2 separate regions of the Homo sapiens genome follow, and region 2 is linked to region 1. The links are contacts of gene promoters, found by promoter capture Hi-C in human tissues and cell types (Jung and others, 2019). All regions are on one chromosome and are shown on one strand. The core of a region is centred on a gene start or on the middle of the fragment in contact, and the rest is flanking DNA. Distances in the headings are between cores, read along the strand shown. Region 1 holds the start of HMX2 (H6 family homeobox 2). Region 2 holds the start of CHST15 (carbohydrate sulfotransferase 15).

The links. The method cuts DNA at HindIII sites, captures the fragments that hold promoters and counts their contacts. A contact is called where the count stands out against the background at its distance.
Region 2: the fragment with the promoter of CHST15 here is called in contact with the fragment with the promoter of HMX2 in region 1 in 1 of the 25 tissues and cell types used here (aorta).

What each region holds. Positions count from the first base shown.
Region 1 is chr10:123,144,480-123,150,450 of GRCh38, forward strand. HMX2 (H6 family homeobox 2) reads left to right here and starts at 3,657. Exons shown (of 2, transcript NM_005519.2): 1 at 3,657-4,167; 2 at 5,091-5,971. The coding sequence starts at 3,900. The coding sequence ends at 5,644. RefSeq lists silencers at 3,527-3,846, 4,237-4,366, 5,474-5,768. The HindIII fragment of the contact is 11,811 bases long and covers 1,216-5,971 here.
Region 2 is chr10:124,090,567-124,096,537 of GRCh38, forward strand. CHST15 (carbohydrate sulfotransferase 15) reads right to left here and starts at 3,032. Exons shown (of 8, transcript NM_001270764.2): 1 at 2,903-3,032. The HindIII fragment of the contact is 16,611 bases long and covers 1-5,971 here.

The DNA of each region.
Region 1 (5,971 bases), core at 2,407-4,906:
CATATATCATAATCCACTCGCGTGGGGGCGGGGGGGCAGACTGTGTTTAATATTTATCGAAGCTTGATTCCAAGATCAAACTTGTTTATGACTTCATCTGTCATTTCGGAGGGAGCCTTCTTCTATTACCCGGCTCAGCCAGCCTATTTCCCAACTGCCGCAGAGCAGAGAGGATCAATTTTTATTAGGATCCTCGGCAAGTTTGCTCTGGGCCGCTTTAATATTGAGCAGTGGCATAATCTCGGGACCTAAACTTTAAGCGTTCTTTCAGGCTCAGAAAGTTTATCATTCCTTGGAACCTGGTTATGCCTAATTCCTAGGAGAGGGAGACAGGGGGTCGATCCCAAAGATGCAGAGGGGCCATCCTCCAAGGTGTGGGTATTAAACTGAGTAGGATTGGGCGGAGCTATCCCAAGGCTAGGGAGGTGGGCGGGGTGTGGGATAGTACTGAGTTGAAGGATTGCCACTCGTTAGGGGAGAGACATGAGGTGTCTGTGGGTGGTGGTTCCAGGAACTGAGTGTTCCTGGGAGTGAGTTTTGTAGCTACACTGGGCCCAGGAGAGGGCGTCTGGGCCTCCGTGCTCCCGGTGAAGATCCCCATATGCTAGAAAGGGGCGGCAAGGAAGGTTGTTTCTTGTCCCTCCCGTCCTTGCGGTGTGACGGCTATAGGTGCTGGAGGGGCGGGAGGTCCCTCGGGCTATCAATCGAGGGGAGCTCAGGGGAACTGCAGTCAGTCAGGCTGCAGAGCTGGGTCTCCACCACAGCCTTCCTTGCCCCAGCCCCGTGCCCACCACCATCTCTTCCCTGGTAAAGTGCACGCACTAGTAGGAGCTCAGTGAACGTTTGCTGAATGAATGTGTGAGTGTGCGCAGGCGTTTATGCAAGTGCCTTCATGCGAATTAATGCGTCCTTTGCCGGGTGTGGCAGCAGAGGAAGTGCCTCGGTGAAGATCAGACCCTCGAAGCGATTAGAGGGACGGGACAGAGGAAATACAAGGCAAGATGGATCTTTTTGACTTCCCAAACTATCCCTAGGGGAAGGAGAGATAGGGACGCAAGGCTTCATAACTTCCTTGTTTAGAGTCCGCAAGCCAGGCTTCTTGCAAGGGTCGACTCCCCAGTCTCTCACTGTTTCAGGGCCTGGGAGTTGCTTTTCCGAGGCCCACTTCGAGGTCCCCTGATCTGACAGAGATCACTCCTTGGGCTCTTGCCCCACCCATATACCCGCCCCCGCCATCCCGAGTCAGCAGGATCCTCACAGTCTTCCCCGCAGCCATCCTCCAAGCTCAATGCCTGTGTCTGCTCCTCTCTCCCTCCTCCCAAATGTGATGTATTGGCAGTGGAACAACCTTGAGCACGAGTCTTGCTTTGTCTGCCTGGGCTAGTCTCTTGTTTTCTTGAGCCTCAGTTTCCCGGCCTGTACATTGAGTGAATAGATCTGTGTCACTTGTTTGCCATCAGGATTAAAGCGAAGAATGCTGGGGAGCTTCCAGCATGTTCCCCGCACGACATATTTACAGTTCAGGAAGGTTCGACCAACTTTCCCTGCCTGCCCCCAGCTTTCTTCCCCAGCGGGGTGGCTGGCACTGCTCCCCGAGTTAGCTGGCCAGTTCCCCTCGGGGCTGCCTTGACCCTGGCTCCGGAGGCAGCGCCTAGCTCAGGATGTCTGCGAGAAGCGGATGGTTAGTGAGAATCCGACGATTCTTTCGCTGAACCTCCCGCGTACCCCCCAACAGCGCGGGAGCACGCGGGACCCGCTGCGACGTGGCCCAGGAGCCTGCGCCGCCGCGGCGCAGAGGAGAACGCACAAATTGTATTTCAGCGCCAGGTCCTTCCGGGTTAATGAGCTGACACCATGATTAAAGCTGACCATTTGTAATGTGTCTCGACCCTGCCGCTGAGCCCTGAAGAGGTTAATGCGGTGACGGAGGCCGGCACCTGCCCCTCGCTGGCCTCCCGGGCCGCTGCGCGCACCCCCTGGCCCCCGCCCCCTCGCCTGCCCCTGCCCCGGCTGCGCGGCCGACTCCTAATCAATTAGCCCATTAACGAGCCCCTCGAGGAGTTAAGTAGGGAAGAGTTCTGCCACGGGCAGGGCCGCAGTCGGTAACTCACCGCGGCTAATGATATTATAAGCGCTTTACTTAATAACCCGGGCGCGGTGCAGGCGAGGAAGGAACTGCACAGTCATGCAGTGTCTGGACATTTGTGGGGACTGATTCCAGAGTCTCCACTCACCCTTGGCTGCACTTGGGGGGCACCCTAAAGACAGGGCTTCTGGAATCTCTTGGCCAAGAGGTCTAGAGGTCACAGCTTGAGGGGACGGGGTTGCCTGAGCACTTCGGGCCTTGCCTCACTTCAGTTTCCAGGAAGCTTGTGCAGACGACTGTGGCCCCAAACCGCTTTGCTTGGCTGGGCTAATTCTAGCTCGGGTAACAGCTGATCTAGGAATTAAAGGGGCGAGAGCCAGGGCACAGAAGGGGGCTATGAGAACACAGAGGGAATCACTATTTACTGAGCACCACGGTGTGCCAGGCTCGGTGCTGGGTAGTTTGACCTCACAACAGCCTCTGCGAGGGAGGCACTGCTTCCTCCAATTTTAGGAATAAAGAAACCGAGCCTCAGAATTTCCAAATGTCTTCCCCCAAGATCACCCAGCCGAGAATTGAGTCGAGTCTGCTCAATTCTAAAACCGAGTCCTGTCACCAGTTCCTTATCTTCTTCCTGGGAGTAAGGCGTCTATTTCTGCAGCAGTTCGGAAACCTTCAAAATTTACAAAACAAAAACACAGATTCGCTTAAAACACGGGTGGGCCATGGGCTACCCGGCCAGGTTTATGGAGTACCTACTATGCGCTGCTAGTGCTTCGAGGCTTTTAATCCCTACCTGAGGCAATCCGAGAAGTTATTTTCAACTATGAGGGCAGAGAGGCTTTAATCGGCATGAGTTGTGCAAGTTCATGCAGTGTGTAAATAGTTGTGCCGGAATTTGAACCCAGATCTCTTGACTAGAGGTCTTAGGGCTTCCTCCCTCCCCCTAAAGATTCTGTAGGTCCGTAGAACCTGTGACAGGGATGAGGTCTGCAGACGGGGAAGGGGAATGTCTGCTCCCAAGGCTCCTGGCCATGCTGGAGAGGATGAGCGTCCGCCTGGAGACGCCTGCTCCTAACCCACCTCACCCCCACGCAGGGCGCCACGGTCCCAGGAGTGCCGGCTTTGCCCGCCCACTGGGGCTAGAAGGGGTGGAGGGCTGGGGGAGGATGGTGGAGCAGCCTGTACAAGCCCCTGGGAGGCGCGGAGACCCGTCGCCTGCGGAGGCGTCGAGCCACTCCAGCTCCGAGTCCCGCACCGCCCCTGCCTCTGGAGAGAAGGGTCCAAGGGGTCCAAGGAGTCGGAGTTGCCGCAGCCGCCAGGAACCCGGGCTAGAATCTGCAGCTGCTTTCAGCCCTGGCTGCCCCTGGTTAGACGCCGCTGATGCCCGCCAGGCCCTCGGCGCGCTCTGGGGGCGCACCGGTGCTGTGTGCCTGGCCGGAGCGTTTTGAAATTTTCCGGGGCCGCTCGGCGGCGCTGCGATTGGCCGCGTTCGGGTAACCTCTATGCAAATGAGGCCGCGCCGCCTCCGCGCCGCCGGAGACCCGGCGAGTTGGCGGGCGAGGAAGGGGCATTTGCACCGGGGCTGGGCGGGCGCACCCAGAGCCAGGCGGGCAGGAACCCCTGCGCAGCCATCCGGTGCCTGCATGTCCCTGGCGCGGAAGGGACGCCTCACCAGCCTCGGCGCCCCCTCCCCCTAGATTTCCTCCCCGCCCCTCCCCACTGCCTGCCTGCTGCACCACCTTCCACCCAGATCACCCAGATCGTCTCTAAAGGGAGTTCTTGGTTTCCTTCGATTTCTTATGAACCCAGGATGGGCAGCAAAGAAGATGCGGGCAAGGGGTGTCCGGCGGCCGGTGGCGTCTCCAGCTTCACCATCCAGTCCATCCTGGGCGGGGGCCCCTCGGAGGCACCGCGGGAGCCCGTCGGCTGGCCAGCCAGGAAGCGCAGCCTGTCCGTGTCCTCGGAGGAGGAGGAGCCGGACGACGGCTGGAAGGCGCCCGCCTGCTTCTGCCCAGACCAGCACGGCCCTAAGGAGCAGGGCCCCAAGCACCATCCCCCCATCCCTTTTCCTTGCCTGGGTAAGGATCGCACGTCGCCAGTGTGGCAGCGAGCGAGCGCGAGGGGAGGGAGGCTGAGCGCCCCGCCAAGACTCCCGCGCCGGGCCCCCTCTGGCCAGAGCTGCGGCAGCCGGGGGTTCGGGACCGCGGGGAGAGGGGCGCGCACTGTGGTGCCTCCTCCGCCCGGTGGGCCCCTGGGAGCAGGCGAACACAGACCCGTGCCGGCTTGGGCTTCCTGGGGAAGGTTGAGTTGTTGAGAGAGTGGACCACAGCGAGAGGGACACGCGGCCGGCCTTACACCCGGCTGTCCTCAATCACTGCACATCTGGTACTTTCTTTCCGGACACGAGGTGGAGATCTGCAAGTCGGGTCTGGGCAGTCTGTCTCCACCGTAATCTCTTTCTGAGTCTTCTTCCTCACTCGCTCCGTATCTCTGCCTTTCTCTCTCTCTCCTCCTTGGAATGATTAGCACTCCAAGATGATTGACAATGGTGCATTTCAGAGACGGTTCCTCTTTACAACATTTGACGAAGGGGAGTCCTGCGTTAGTCCTTAGCGTGATTTCCAAACAAACGGCCTGTGAAATGATGCCACCCTATAAAGCTCGAGGAACTCTTCCAGCTCAATTACCACCAAGCAAATTCGCCTTTTAAAACCATGCTAATGTTTCCCCCTCCAGACCTCCTCTCCCTGTTGCCCCTGGCCCATTCATAAAGGTGGGAGCACAGAGACCCCATACTCCAAGTAGCTGGGTCCCTCTCTTGTCGCTTTTAAAGGACGGGGTGCTGGGTTTGGGGGGCCAGTGAGAGGGATAAGAGGAGGGGATTGGTAAGGTGGGACCAAGGCTGCAGGCGCTTGCCAACCGCTTGGTCCCAGGGAGAGCTGGCGGTCTCCGAGGCTCCCCAACCAACTCCATGGCCTTTCTGTCTGTTCTCGCTCCTCAGGTACCCCCAAGGGCAGCGGAGGCTCGGGCCCGGGCGGCTTGGAGCGCACGCCTTTCCTCTCTCCTTCGCACTCGGACTTTAAAGAAGAGAAAGAGAGGCTCCTGCCCGCGGGCTCGCCCTCGCCGGGGTCCGAGCGGCCGCGGGACGGCGGCGCTGAGCGGCAGGCCGGCGCGGCCAAGAAGAAGACGCGCACCGTCTTTTCGCGCAGCCAGGTGTACCAGCTCGAGTCCACCTTCGACATGAAGCGCTACCTGAGCAGCTCGGAGCGCGCCTGCCTCGCCTCCAGCCTGCAGCTCACGGAGACCCAGGTAAAGACTTGGTTCCAGAACCGCCGCAACAAGTGGAAGCGGCAGCTCTCGGCTGAGCTGGAGGCGGCCAACATGGCGCACGCGTCGGCGCAGACTCTGGTGAGCATGCCGCTGGTGTTCCGGGACAGTTCGCTGCTGCGCGTGCCGGTGCCGCGCTCGCTCGCCTTTCCCGCGCCGCTCTACTACCCGGGAAGCAACCTCTCGGCCTTACCTCTCTACAACCTATACAACAAGCTCGACTACTGACCGGCCCGCCGCCCCGCGCCGCCCCCAGCTGCCCGCAGAGCCGGGCGCGTACTGTACTGTAAGCAGGGCTCCGGAGCAAGGCGGCGTGTTTCCAGAAATATGAAGAAATACACCATGTGTATTCATTAGCTCTTATTTATGGTCTCTGCCCTACTTTTTGTTTTGATTGTTTCGGGTATTTATTGGCATTCCCTAAGTCAGAGAGCCTGCTTCCTACCTAGACCGAACCAGTACGCTTTGAAAACCATTCGGAGTGAGATGTTCTCGGGTGGTGGTGGGAAAGGGAGTTTTGGCCAGACAGGCTGTGGTTGGTAGGGAAAAAAATCA
Region 2 (5,971 bases), core at 1,782-4,281, 950 kb after region 1:
TTCCCCAAACACTTCTTCTTGATGCAGGAATTAATCTTCTCTCTTCCAGGCATGTGAAAAATCAAATGTTTCTGATATCTCACTTTTCCTGGCCAGGGGCAGCAGCAACCAGGGATGACAAAGGTGTGGAAGGAAACTGCAGCCCTCACAGCAGCCACGGTGACCGTGCTGGGTCCCTGGCCAGGACAGTGGCTCAGACATGGCGAGCTTTGATCATCCAAGAAAAGCAAGGCACACATGTGACCACTGTGGGCCGACCTGCCTGCCACCCCCCTGGACAATATCCTGGATGAATTACCCCTGCATGCTTCACCTACAAGCCAGCTCACTGCAATCATCCAAAGCCCAGAGGAGAGAGCCGCAAAGACAGGGTTGGACTTCTGCAGAGGGCTCCTGAGCTGGCTCTCCTCCGGAGCTGGACTTTGGAGGGAAGCCCAGACCTGCAGCTCCACCTCCAGCTCACCTATGTGCCCACAGGAAGGCCATAACAAGCCACTTTACCTCACCAGCTCTGTGTGCCCATCTAGGAGGTGGCAAGAAAGAAAATCTTCTGACAGTTTCTCAGGAACTTGGGGGAGAAAAACTTGTTTGCAAAAACCTACCTACTTAGAAGGCATTTTTATTCCTATACTACTTTGAATAAAATCATATATGATCTATGTATGTCTTTATGTATCAATCAAGAGATCCTAGTTCAACATTCAGTTTGTAAAATTAGTAAGTGCCATGTTCTGGAAGGGAGGGTTCCTGATTTTGCAAGGTTGCCGGTCCTGGGAGGAGAAGCAGGAAAGCGGGGGATGGATAATGGTCCAGGAAGGTCCAAGGAGGGTCCAGGAGAAACGCTGGGCAAATCTCTAGGCCTCAGTTTACTTCAGGGCCCCTCGGGGGTGCAGATGCCCTCCGAGGCCTTTCTGCCCCAACGCTGGGTGGCTACCCTAACCCACCGAGGCATCCCACAACACTCAGGAATTGCAGCTGATAAAGAGGGGCTGGGGGCACTGCTAGGGCGCCCAGAGGCAAGGTTAGCCCCTTTGCTCAGCCTCACTGACCGGCTTGTCACATCCCTCTGCGGGGCATCCCGGAGCCACACTTCATTCCCGAGAACTCGGTACAATTAACTTAACCAACGTGAACAAGGCGAAGGCGCCCAGCTGTCACAGCGGCTCCGCGCACGCAGGCAGACGAAGAAGGGCCCCCGCCCCCAGGAGCTGGTCCCAGCCTCCAGCCTGGCAGCCTCCTTCGAAGACTTCCCTACACTGGGCGCGGACCTCCAGCCGCCAGCAGCCGGCAACCCAGCCCCAGCCTTCCTCCTCTATACCCGCCGTCCCAGCCGCGCCGGCCGGCCCCGGGCGCAGGGCGGGCGGGAACGTGGGCACCCGGACAGCGACGGGGAGGTCAAGCAGCTGTGCCCAGGACCCGGGCGGCTCCGAAGCCTCAACACGCACACACTCGCGCGCACGCCGGCCCATCGGTTGCCTGGAGGAGTCGGGAAGGTGCTTCCACGGCTCTTCATTCATTTTCCCAAAGGCAAGGTTCCCTTCGCCCCGGCGCCTCTATCCTGCCATCCCAGGGGGCCAATTGCGCCACAGCCCGCCACCCAGCCACCCACAGCCACCGCGTCCTATCTCCCGGCACACACAACCCAACAGACTCGCATTACATCTCCACCGCCAGCGTCGCCTCCGCGCCCCGGCCGCTGCCATCCGGCTCCCCAGCTTCGCCGCCCCGCAGCCCCGGCTCCCCGCCTCTGGCCTCACCGCGCGGCTCAGAGCTGCCTCGCTCGGCTCGCCGCACCAAGGCCGGCCAGAGACGCCGCCACCGCCGGGAAGCGCCGGCAACTCCCGAGTCACGCCGCCTCCCGAGACGCGGCGGGGCGCAGGGAGGGGACAGCAGTGGGGGCGGGGCGGGGAGGAGGAAGGAGGAGGGGGCGGGGAGCAAAAGTTCACACCGCTCGGGGCTCAGCCGCTCCCCTATCTCTTCCCAGGCCCGCCCCCGCCATCCCCCTTCCCTGAACCGGGTCCCACGGGCTTAGGCGCGGGAGAGCTCTGGCCTCCCCGCCCGGAACCGCCGCAAGGCTAGAGCCAGGGTTCTGGAAGCGCATCCGAGCTCGCAACCGGGGAGAGAGTGGCGGATGCCCACTTACCTGCCCCGGGCCGCGCCTGGAAACTTCCCCAAAGTGCGATAGGGGTGTGGGGGCGGAGCGCAAGGCTGGGGGGAATCCCCGTCCCCTACCGCCAAACGACGCGCGCTCACACCGTGAAAGCACTGGTCTGTCCGTCGGTCGGTCCCCCGCCTGCGGCTCCCAGAGCTGGGCGGTGCAGGGGCGCCCCGATTCCGACTACTGGGCTCCTTCTCCCGGACAGCCCGCCGGTGCGTTCCACGCGGCTTGCGCCCCCCGCCGGCCTCCGGCTATCCACGGCGCCACCACGCCACTGCTCGGTCCCCTGTCCCCTCGCTCCGGCCGCGTCCTCTCTGCGAGGGAGGGGGCGTGTGTCGCCGCTGGGTAACCCTTCCCGCGGGGTCCTCAAGCGCGCAGGGCGCCCGGAGCGCGGCCAGGACCAATGGCGAAGGGACTCCTCCCGCTGGGGATCGCTGAAGCCTCGGGGAGGCCGGGCCAAGGAGCCCGGGGCCCAAACCTGCCTCGGCTCGTCGAGCTCGCAAGTTCATTGTCTGCCTGGGCCGCCGCCGCCACCGCCACCGCCACCACCGCGCCGGGAGCGCCGCGGGGAGTGAGGCTGCGCGCCGCCTCCGCCGGCCCGGACTCCCTACGCCCAGCCCCGGCCGCCGCCGGCGCTGCCTGGCCCGAACCCGCGGAGGGGCGCCGGAGCCCCGAGCCCAGGGCCAGACCTCCTACCGCCGCTCCTCGCCGACCCCACCTCGGCGTCTGGCACCTAACTTGTACCTGAGAAGCCTGAGTCCAGCCCGGGAGCCTCTGCGGCTCCGGCTCCGCGGGAGCGCGCCCAGCCCCGAGCCTCTAGCCCCGCATCCAGGGCGCGTCAACCTGACTCCCCGAGCGCTGGGAGGAAAAGTTTGGGAGTGACGTGCAGACGGCGAATGAAACATCCGAGGAGAACCCTCCCCCCGCCCCATGTCGCGCTGACACACATCAGCTCCAGTCTGGAATGTGAGATCAAGGCGTGTGCGCCGAGCGGTGGGTTTGGCCCCTGCCCCCTCCCCCTCCGAGTCAACACTGCTTGTGTGTTGCGGTGATTCCAAATAAAAGCACATCGAAACCCCTGAAATCTGGCAGTGACACCTTGCCAGATACTTCTTTTTTTTAAAGACAGAGTTTCGCTCTTGTTGCCCAGGCTGGAATGCAATGGCGCGATCTCGGCTCACTGCAACTTCCGCCTCCCGGGTTCAAGAGAGTCTCCTGCCTCAGCCTCCCGGGTTCAAGAGAGTCTCCTGCCTCAGCCTCCCGAGTAGCCGGGATTACAGGCATGCGCCACCACGCAAAATAGGCTAATTTTATATTTTTAGTACAGACGGGGTTTCTCCATGTTGGTCAGGCTGGTCTCGAACTCCCGACCTCAGATGATCCGTCCGCCCCCCCAACCCAAAGTGCTGGGATTACAGGCGTAAGCCACCGCGCCCGGCCGCCAGAGACATCTTTAAGGAACTTGGCGGTCTGGAGCCAGCCCGTACATTAATATTCAAGGCCACAGCGCTGGTGAGTTCGGCGCCCTCTGTTGTATTTTTGCATCCCGGGAAGGCTGGCCCGGCTCTTTGGCCCGGCGTGTTTTGCTTCCGCGGGGGAGGTAAAGCTCTGCAGGACCCCGATCGCCACGGCCTGCCGCAGTGGCCTGGAGTCGGCTGCCCCAGGGAACCACCTGGACAGCCCGAGGGCAAGAAAGCGGCACCAGTGGCCGACTCCACTGACTCTGGGCTGAAGATGCCATCAGTTAAAGAAAAGACACATGAAATTCTGGCAGATTCGCTCAGAGGGCGCTTGGAGCACCAAGCCCAGCCTCTCAGGAAACTGAGGTCCAAGGGACAAAAAGAATCTGCAGTCTCTTGCCGGCCTGTGTCCCCGTGGCCAGAGTCCAGCACCCTCTTCCTCGAAGCAACCAGAAGTGGAAATGAAAGTGCTCCGTTAACTGTAGACTACATGCCACCGAAGGGTCATTCCTGACAGTGGCTTCTCCCCATTATCTCTTTATTGCCGGAGGCTTCATCTCGCCCCCCTGAAGCTACAGTCCACCCTGAGGTCATAAACTTCTGCTCAGCACCCATGGCAACTAATGCAGAGGTCACCATCAGAGGATTATAACTGCAGATGGGAAACCGGGATGAGAGGGGAGTTCTTTAAAATCCTGTCTTGTTTTCCTGCAAATAATGCCTCTTACATAAAATCTGCGAAGAAAGATGAATGCAGCAAAGAGACTTGCCTTAGAATCTCAGACTAGATTGCTTTTTCCATATAGACTCCACTTAGTGATTTTTGTTCTTTATTTTTTTTTTAAACAAAAACCTATTTCTGAAAATACAACGAGCTGCTTTTTGCAGGGTTCACAATTCCCAATAGATGATGATGCCATTTTTCAAGGTCTCACACACGTTGTGGCTTTGGGGCTTATTTATTAGCTCCCAAGAAAAGCCTGCCTTTCAGTGAGGTTTATATACTCGAGTAATTGCATCAGGGGACACAGAGCAGGTTGCTGTTAAAGAGGGTTGGTTGTACATGCGTCTGCAAGGAAGGCCCTGGGCCAGGCAGCTGTCAGACCAGTGTGCAACGGGTTTAAACAAACACAGGGAAGGGTCTGTGGAAACAGCAAGGAGGAAATCCCCTTCTGTAAGGGTGTGTGGAACATTATTCCAGGGCCACACATACTGCCAGGGAATAATGCCTTTCCTCTCCTCCCTCCAAGTAAACACATAACTCCGTTATGGAGATGGCGCTGGGCCCACCCAGATCACTTTCAAATTCAGGTGTCAGAAACCACGGTTGACATGGAGCAAAATTGTTTTTAAGTAAAAATCACGGTGCCGCTTTGATATGAATTCCACCAGGGACTTTCCAAAGGTATTTATACACGTGCCTGAGATTAACTAGAAGGTGATTTTTTTCCTTTCAACCTTAATTTCAAAAAATTACCCAAGAATTGCACTTGAGCCTGTTACTGCAGAGAATTGAAAGAACACCCAAATGCCAGGTCCCTGTGGATGGGTGGAAGGATAGACAAATAAATGTGTAACTGCAAGAGAGGTTGATACCAACATGGTATTAGCAAGTCACGGCTGAAAAAAATGCAGATACCGGCCAAGCACGGTAGCTCACGCCTGTAATCACAACACTTTGGGAGGCCGAGGCGGGTGGATCACTTAAGGTCAGGAGTTCGAGACAAGCCTGGCCAACATGGTGAAACCCCGTCTCCACTAAAAATACAAAAATTAGCTAGGCGTGGTGGCGCAAGCCCGTAGATTCCCGGGAGGCAGAGGTTGCCGTGAGCCGAGATCACACCACTGCACCCCAGCCTGGGTGACAGAGTGAGACACCCTCTCAAAAAAAGAAAAAAGAAAAAAAAATGCAGATACTTTCAGAAAATAAATCCCCGCTTCCCGTGTGTGCACTCTAGGCCCCCACAACTGTGGATTTAAATTGCCTGGGTTCAAATTCTACTTCTGCCACCCACTAGCTGAGCAACCCTGGGCAAGTCACTTCTTTCCATGCCTCAGTTTGAGGCTTCTGGTAGCACCTACGAGCAGTCAATTGAGCTGTTGATCCCAACTCCTCACTCTCCCGTGGTGGTTATCACACGTCTGCATCCTTGTCACAGCCTTCCAGTGCAGGGACTGTACTTCCCCATTCCTTGACTTTGGACTTGCTTTAGACAATGAGATAATGGGGAATATAACTGGATCAGAGGCTTGGAATGTGCTTGCAGGGCCAGACCTGCTTTCCTCTGCTCTGGTGGTCCACCATGAGACGAACATGTTGCTGCCTCTTCCAGAGAGGCTTCAGAATGAACAC